3 separate regions of the Homo sapiens genome follow, and regions 1 and 2 are each linked to region 3. Evidence: promoter capture Hi-C in 16 types of primary human blood cells and fetal thymus (Javierre and others, 2016). All regions are on one chromosome and are shown on one strand. The core of a region is centred on a gene start or on the middle of the fragment in contact, and the rest is flanking DNA. Distances in the headings are between cores, read along the strand shown.

Region 1 (2,895 bases), core at 225-2,724, 690 kb before region 3:
GTTCTTACACTTCCTTCCTTGATTACTACCATGAAGCAAGGAGTCTTACCAGACTATCTCCATCTGGAGGAAAAAAGAACTACAAAATATCCAAAAGACTTATTCTTTTCTACATGATTGCAGTGTTAAAGTACAATTAACTTGTATTTCTATAATTATTTGTATTATAGAGACAGCTGTACAAAATTGTTAGTATAGGAAGGATACTGTGGATATCAGAAGGTATGATGGTTACATAGTAATGTTAGTATTCCTTGTGTACACCTGTTAGTTTTGCAATCTGTTTTCTTAAGTATTTGTTTAAATTTTTGTGGGTACATAATAGGTGTTTGTATTTATGGGGCAATGTGATATTTTGATACAGGCATACAGTGTGAACTAAGCACATCATGGAGAATGGGGTTTCCATCCTCTCAAGCATTTATCTTTGCAATCTGTTTTGAATTATTATAGTTCTAACTCACTGTTATTTAGAGTGGAATTAGATGAGAGGATATTTATGAAATGAAAAAAGGCTGTTACATTGTAGTGAAGTAAACAGGCAAAGGGCTGTAGACTTTCATATTAAACCTAGGGCGTATAGAAATTTTTAACTTAGTGTTGTGTTTATAGGCATGTCTGTTTTTTTTTTTTTTACAAAAATAAATTTGGACGCTAAGAGCAAGCACTCTCCAATATGTACCAGCACAATTTTTTGGAGTGATGATGGATACTGCTCCTTTGTATATCATCAATTGACTTAATACCGGTGTGATTCAAGTGTAGATTAAAGCTTACAATGATACTGATGTGGTGTCTTATGTTACAGATGTTAAAATAACTGATAGCATTAGAAGACTCTTGACAAGAAAAAGAAAACATTACCGATGCCTTACTATAACACTATTTCTAATTTGTACAACACTTTGACAAAGCAGTTTCACTGAATCTCACTAAAACCTTATGGGCATTGTAATCTTCATTTTACAAACGAGAAAACTGAAGGTCAGAGAGGAGAGCATGGAACTAGTAGGGGATCACACAAACAAGAAGTTGAGCTGGGACCAGAATAAAATGCTTTTGACTCCCAGTTTAGTGGTCTTCTCATTACACTGCTTTACATCTGATATTGATAAGGATTTTCTAAAAGATAAAATTATTACTTTTTAAACAGCTGCTTGGCTTTTGATTTACCCATTAAGTTTACAAAATAGAAAACAATTATGCTACTGTCTTCCATATTATACTTAACCACATCTCTCTCAATTTTTAGAGAAGAGAGGCAAAACCATTAATAAATAAAATAAGTTATGATATATGATAATAATGAGCTTCAGACTCATTATTTGATCAGTGCTGTGACACACAAAGCTATATGTACATCTTTGACTCCACCTCTATCAATGCCTCATGATTATTCTTATAGAAGACTCTCACTTTAATAAGAAAAATCAAATAACATTACATATTTATTATTACTACATTAAAACCCAGAACTGTCTTATTAACTTTGCAGTGATTCTTATTATTAAAAATATGAAGATACAAGTCTGCATGTAAAAGGTTAAATTTTTCATGACCTGCAAATCTTTCTTATTAGAATATTTTCATTTCTAGCTATCCAGAGGAAATATATTATTACTTGATTGAAATTGACTGAAGCCTATCAGCAAACTCTAAATGGCAATTCAACAAATATTTCCTGAGTTCTTACTATAAATAAGGCATTGAGCTAGATTGTGAGGGATGTAATCTTTTATAAGAAATAAATCATGCTCTTGAGATGTTGACTTTTTTAAACACCTATTATTATCAAGTATACTTTACCAGGGTCCATGAGTTACTTATCTCAGTGCTCTTCTCCAGTCTCCTTTTAACTGAGTTTCTTGAATTTTAGTATATTCTCACTAAATGGCATTTTTTCTAGAAACCAATTCAACAAGGAATTGGAAAACTCATTCTTTTTATTCAGCTACCTAAAAATAGAGGATAATACACGCCTCCATAAACAACTTAAAAATAGTCAACATAGAAGTACAATATAATATGCCAGAATACAGGAAGACTTCCTAAAGGAGAAAAAGATTTTAAAGTAGGAAATAGACAGTCCTTATATGTGATCATATTCAGAAATATTTAAAAAAGAGACATACAATAAAAATTAAAAGTTGGGAATGTGAGAATTATCAAAGCTTGAATTCAAATCCAGACTTCCATCACTTACTATTTATGTGCCCTTGATAGATGCCCTTATTCCCTGTTTTAGTTTGCTCATGGTAACATTAAGGGTTGGGAGTCACGCTAATAGGAGTGAGCGTTAAAGCTAATAAAACAAAATCACTACCATTTATTAAGCATGTGAGAAACTCAGCCTGTAAGCCCTATAGTTACTGATTACCTATAATCCACAGAAGGGGGCAGTATAGCATAATAAATCAGATTGTGAGCTCCTGTTAGAGACTTGGCACTGAAGGATTACAAAGCCTTGAAATGGACCACTTGGGACATGACCAGTGAGCACCAGAAGGCAGCCATGAGGGACTGCTGAAGACTACATAACCCATTTTTTTTTTCTGGACTACTTAAACCTGGTTTAAGCCTGGCAGTTCTGTGTAATGTTAGAAAGCTGCAAGGAAAAAAAAAAAAAAAAAGACTGACTTTTGATTTCCCACCAATCTTGCCTGGGGAACTGAGACATTTACATACTACTTACCTGGTTTCAAACATTATTGTAAGTATTTTACATAAATAACTCATTTAATCTTCACATCAGCCTTACTATTGTTCTTCCATTTCACAAATGAGGAAACTGAGGCTTAGAGAGGTGAAGTCACTTGCCCAAAGTCACACAACTAGAAAGTGGTAATGCTGGAATTTGAACTCAGCAGAAAAACTAGATCTAGAGTCTGGCTTTTA
Region 2 (2,827 bases), core at 54-2,553, 520 kb after region 3:
CATGGCCTCTGAAAGTCCCTCAGCCTTCCTGGCTGAGCAGAACAGGTAGCCCCACTGACAGTTGTGGGGCTGCCCTTAAGTGCTCTGGAATGGGGTGGGGTGGGATGGGGTGGGGTCGGGGAGTCTTAATGACATTATTGTGCCATGTTCGTTGTGATTTAGCTGCTAGCTAGAGAGCTAGAACAGCAGAATTGGAGGGGCCTTGTGAGGTCATCTAGTCCAACATCCTCATGTTACAGATGGTCAGACTGAGGTCCAGAGAGGGGAAGGTACTGACCCAAAGTCACACAGTGAGTTATTGACAAAGCTGAAGCTAGAACCAGATCTCTGTTTTGTTTATACTTTATTTTGAGTCAGTTGTTGGTTGCCAGATACTAACTGGTTTCTCTCTCCCCACTGTTCTGCTCTCCTCTTTCCTTTGTTCTGCGGTGGCAACTCTGTTGTTGGTGGGGGGCTTGGCTCATGCGCGCGCACACATTCTCTTGCTCTCACTCTCACTTCCTTTCTCTTGCTGTCTCTTGCTCTCTCTTTCGTGCTCTCCTGCTCTCTCTCTCCTATTGCCCCCCCAAATGGGTGTCCCTTACAAACCAGAAAACGTGGACTTGAATGACGTCCTGGTGCCAAAGCCGTTCTCTCAGTTCTGGCAGCCCCTGCTCAGGGGCCTGCACTCCCAGAACTTCACGCAGGCCCTATTGGAGAGGATGCTCTCTGAACTGCCAGCCTTGGGGATCAGCGGGATCCGGCCTACCTACATCCTCAGATGGACCGTTGAACTGATCGTGGCCAACACCAAGACTGGTGAGGGAGACTAGCCCTAGCCCTAGGGCCTAAGGCAGCCCAGGCAGGAGCCTCTGCCACTGTCCTCAGCTCTCTGCTAAGAAGCACCAGGCAAACACCTCCCGTGTTAAAGGTTTAGGTTTGCCCAAGAGGGCCCCACGGCAGCAGTGGACAAATCTCCCTTTTCCTTTTCTTCTCAGAGCCAACTAAACTGGGCTGGGGCAAAGTGCCCTGAATTCTTTGAGCAGTTGGGAGGTATAGGTGGGGAGTCTGGGGGGATGGGGAGGGACAGAGCCAAACTTTCTGAGGTGAAATGTTGGGTGGGGGGCTCACTGCTTCCTTCTCCTTAGATCCTCTCTTCTCTCTCAGGACGGAATGCTCGCCGATTTTCTGCAGGCCAGTGGGAAGCAAGAAGGGGCTGGAGGCTGTTCAACTGCTCCGCCTCCCTTGACTGGCCCCGGATGGTTGAGTCCTGCTTGGGCTCACCTTGCTGGGCCAGCCCCCAACTCCTTCGGATGTAAGTCTCTTGAATTCCATCCGGTAAGAGGGTGAGGCCCTTCAAGCCTCAGGGCCACACTGCCCTAGAATGACTGAGTTAGAAGGGCCCTTTGGGGACAGTCTAGCCCAGTCTCACTCCCACTGACAGATGGGACAACTGAGTCCAGAGAGGGGAGGGGTAGGGTTTTCTTACCTAAGATCATACAGCTTAAGACCTGACTGAACTGAGTCCAGTGTGGGAATGGATAAGACAATCCCCCTAGAGTGCTTAGCACAGTGGCCTGCACAGAGTAAGTGCACAATAAATGGTAGCTGCTGTTTATTATTGAACCCAGGTCTTCTGACTCCAAGCCCAGTGCTGTTTCCTCTATTATCTTTCCAAAGTATACCTCTGATAGTTGCTTAGCAACCTTCAGTTGCTCCCTATTGCCTTCCTGTTAAGTCTAGGCTTCTTAGCCTGACATTCAAAGATCTTTCTGATTCTGGCCCAACTTACCATGGTAGCCATACCTCCTGTGAGTCTCCTTTACCCTATCCACCCTGGGTTCTATGGTCAAACTGAATATTGCACTGGTAAATACCTGTGGTTGTCTCCCTTTCCTTTTCTCTGTCATTTCCTGACCCTGAGCCACTTCCCTCATAATCATGGAAGCCTTTAGCGCCTGATTCCCTTCTTGCTTTCTTGAGCAATATCTGTTTCATTTGGATGACTCATCTGACACTCTACAGCTCCTCAACTCCAGTGACTTTCATTCTCCACTACACTCAGCAACCCATTTCCATCATTCGGAGCTATTCCACCTCTGAAAGCTCACATCCCAGCATCCCACTCGGTGACCACCACTTCTCGTCCTTCTAGTTCTCACCCTTGCATCCCATGACATCTGCTCTTTGCCTGCATCCAGATCTCCATCCCTCCATTTCCTGCATCCCTTGACCTTGCTTCCTCTCTATCCTGTCTGTGGTTGCTCAGTTCGGCCACTCATCATCAGCACCTTCAGCTTTGCCCATCCTTTGGCCATATCTGACTTGCAAACCCCTGAGCTGGAATTGATCCTCCCCATTCTGCTTCCCCTGCTCCTCAGCCCGGGTAGCTGAGCTCTGCTGGAGAAAACCACATAGCCCTGCGGATTGCTGCCACTGCAGAGGTATGATTTTTAATCTCGGGCGAGGCCTCAGTTCTGCTTGTCTGAACTTTTACTTGTTTTCTGACCACTTTCTCTCCCATTTCCTCACTATTCTAAACCCTTACCGCTCACCTCAAGCCCCTCCCCCTCTCCCATTTCACCCTAGCTTCCTCGAGCACATGGAGGCATCCGGCAGGGCCCCCTCGACCTGAGGTCCAGCCCTCGTGAACTGATCTGCGGCTGCACTCAACCTTCTCGCCAGTCTCAGGATGAGGTGGCCTTGCCCCACCTCAAAGCCTGCTCCTCCACCTGTGCTCTGGAGCCACCTCTGCCAGCATCGCTGGGGCCTCACCCCAGCCTCTACCTTGCTCTGCTGGCTCTTGCTCTTCAACCTAGGAACGTGCCTGAGCTTTTCTCATCTTAAA
Region 3 (2,814 bases), core at 142-2,641:
GTGTGTCTGTGCGGTGGTGGTGGTGTAGTGGTGATAGGGTGTTGGTTGAAAAATATCAAAGGAGGGTTCTGTGAAGTTCAGGGTTTCCTGAGTGAGGACCCGGTGGGAAAAAATGGCTGAAATTTCCAGTGAGATGGAATGAGTGCAGTACTCAAAAAACAAGGAACAACCAGCCAAGGGGGATTGGGCCCTAGAGGCAGAGGTGATTGATAGAATTCCATGTAATAATGTGTCCTGAAATGCTGGAATGTCTCCTTAGCCCGTGCACAGCTCCAAATCATCTGCATGCAGCCACCCCTTGGCAAGTATGTTTCTTTATATTCCCACTCCCCATCTCTGCACAAACTCCTCCCTCCCCTGACCAAGTCCTTTCCTATCCCTCCAATCAAAGAGTAAACTAAGCTTAGCTGTTACTTACAGTGCAGTATGAATTTTTGGGATGTATTTGTGCTTTTGAAAGTGCTTATTGTTTCAAAGCTTAGTAGACAAAGCGCAGTGCCAAACCTAGTTAGACTGCTGATGAAATTACAGTCACTCTGGGGCCTGTGAAGAGGAGCAATTTCTGGAGCAGTTGAGCTTTGCTAGGAGGCATAATATTACTCTCTTGTAGGTCAAGGGCCTGTACCAATTGGAAGTCAATGAAAAATTCAACCTAATACAGCATACCACTAATGGGCTGCTGCACTGGAGGCTAGGCTTAAATTTCCCTTAAAAGAAGTAAAAAATAAATTCCTTATGAAAAAGCATGGAGAACATTAATGAAAATGAATTCTCCCTTACCATCAGAGAGGTGGAGCCATTGTAGAAAGTGATTCAAAGAGCTTCCCCAATATGAGATATGAGGCATATTCACCCATAACAGCCTTATCCATTGGCTTGTCAATTATTCAAGCTTTGATGTGTAGAAAGCCCTTTAATACACTAAACTCTTGTACTCTTAAGCCCAAAAGCACCCCGGGCCCAACACCCTGTCCAGTTGCATAGGCTGCACAGGCAAGGGTTAACAGTACAACTAATGAAAATTGGGTAGGTCAGCAAAGTTGATCTCTTCTCCCTGGGCTCACCACAAAGGAAAACACCGCCATACTGGAGTGGGAAGACTCATCCCAAAGGTCGCCCCCACAACCTCTGAATCTTGTGGAGGAGACTCAAAATAAATACAGCCTAGGAGATCAAAGACCAGAAAGCCCCATTGGCTCCAAGGAAAGTCAAGTCAATACCCTAGCAGGGGGAAGAATTGCTTCACTCATCCTGGAACCTCCAACCCCAAGGAGGTGGGGGAAGGGGGGCACCCCACATGACCTGTACTGAAATAGGGAAGGAAGGGGAATGTGTGATGGGACTAGGAGTTTGAGTGAGAGATATAGGGAAGGAAGGGAAGTAAGCAGTCACAGACGCTGGCGGCCACCAGAAGTTTGAGCCTCTTTGGTAGCAGGAGGCTGGAAGAAAGGACAGAAGTAGCTCTGGCTGTGATGGGGATCTTACTGGGCCTGCTACTCCTGGGGCACCTAACAGTGGACACTTATGGTAAGGCAGAAAGGGGGGCCTGGCTGCCATTGCTGGCTTAGGCAAAAGGCTAGAGGGTTGGTGTTTAATGTCTACTATGGAAAGCCTATTCCTACTGGGCAGGTGAGTCTTCTCAGCCAAACTCTGCAGGCTCTCTCAGCCTTGAGCAAAACGGATGGATGTAGTTGAAGGCTGCTGAAGAAGCCAGAAGGCAAGTTTGGGCAGAAATTGAAAAAGGATTTTTCTCTTGGAAAACATCTGCATTATTTTCTAGGGCTTGTATCTCAGGGGCATCAAGAAGGTTCCCAATGACATCCGAATCTTTCCTCCATCTGCTGTCTCTCATCTAAAATTCTACAATTGGACTTAACCACTCTGCTTCCAAGCTTTGGTCTCTGTTAAAATATACAGCCCCCGAAGAAGGAGTGTTTTCTAAGAGTTGGATAGGACTATAGAAGTAACCTATACCACCCTTCATTGTCATGAATAAGTGCTCAGAAACATCCAGTAGTGATTGAGATTTCACTGTTCACTACCTCCCCAGACCATCTAGTCCATCCAGGAGCAGCTCCAACTGTTAGAAAGTTCTTATTTGTGTTGAACTAAATCCAGTTCCCTCTGACTTCCATCCAAAAACCCCAGCTTTGCTTCTTGGGGCTACACAGAACATAGATGCTTCCTTGCCCTGTGATAGCCCTTCAAAGCCCTGAGGACAAGTACTATGTCTCCTTGACTCTTCTCTCCTCCAAGCTGAACAGCCCCAGCTTTTTCAACTGGTCTTCATAGGACTTGGTTTCTTACCCATTCCTGGGATAACTCACTTCCCTATAGACATGGCTCAATTTGTCTGGGCTATTTATGGGCTGGATACAAATCCCAAAGGAGGATGGACTATTCCATAGTGGCATTATTTCCTTGGAGCTTGGGAAGCTCTATCCTCATCTACACTCCTGAGAAGTGAGATGGATTTTCAGGAAACTCAACCTGGGTAACAGCTAAGTGAGATCCAATATAGGGTAAAGGGGGATTTTGCTGCTTCCCTATCATCCCTAGAGAAAAAGGCTGGATAGGTGTTAGCTTGGTGTCACTTGTTAGGTCAGAAAGAATCCAGCTTTCCGTAGCTGACTCTGATTAGGTTACCCTATCCTGGGGCTCTGTGACCCATCACACTCTGGAACCTCAGAGTTAGAAAAGACTCTGAATTAAGTCAACCAAGAGAAAAAATAATTTGCCCCCAAGCCAAAGAGCATTAGTGGCAGAGTTAATGCTCCTGAAAAAACATTTTTCTTTCTATAACTACCACATTTC

The links. The method cuts DNA at HindIII sites, captures the fragments that hold promoters and counts their contacts. A CHiCAGO score of 5 or more calls a contact.
Region 1: a contact is called between a fragment that was not itself captured here and the fragment with the promoter of VSIG4 in region 3, in 6 of 17 cell types (endothelial precursors, M2 macrophages, fetal thymus and 3 more). The highest score is 8.4, in endothelial precursors.
Region 2: a contact is called between a fragment that was not itself captured here and the fragment with the promoter of VSIG4 in region 3, in 4 of 17 cell types (activated CD4 T cells, non-activated CD4 T cells, monocytes and 1 more). The highest score is 7.3, in activated CD4 T cells.

Annotation. Positions count from the first base shown.
Region 1 is chrX:66,731,109-66,734,003 of GRCh38, reverse strand. No RefSeq gene overlaps it. Among named protein-coding and RNA genes, the nearest start is that of EDA2R, 93 kb to the right of the region's middle. The HindIII fragment of the contact is 1,399 bases long and covers 775-2,173 here.
Region 2 is chrX:65,522,027-65,524,853 of GRCh38, reverse strand. LAS1L (LAS1 like ribosome biogenesis factor) reads left to right here. Exons shown (of 14, transcript NM_031206.7): 9 at 240-290; 10 at 592-798; 11 at 1,147-1,294. Among named protein-coding and RNA genes, the nearest start is that of LAS1L, 11 kb to the left of the region's middle. The HindIII fragment of the contact is 4,278 bases long and covers 1-2,827 here.
Region 3 is chrX:66,038,657-66,041,470 of GRCh38, reverse strand. It overlaps VSIG4 (V-set and immunoglobulin domain containing 4), which reads left to right and starts at 1,391. Exons shown (of 8, transcript NM_007268.3): 1 at 1,391-1,527. The coding sequence starts at 1,473. The HindIII fragment of the contact is 1,000 bases long and covers 895-1,894 here.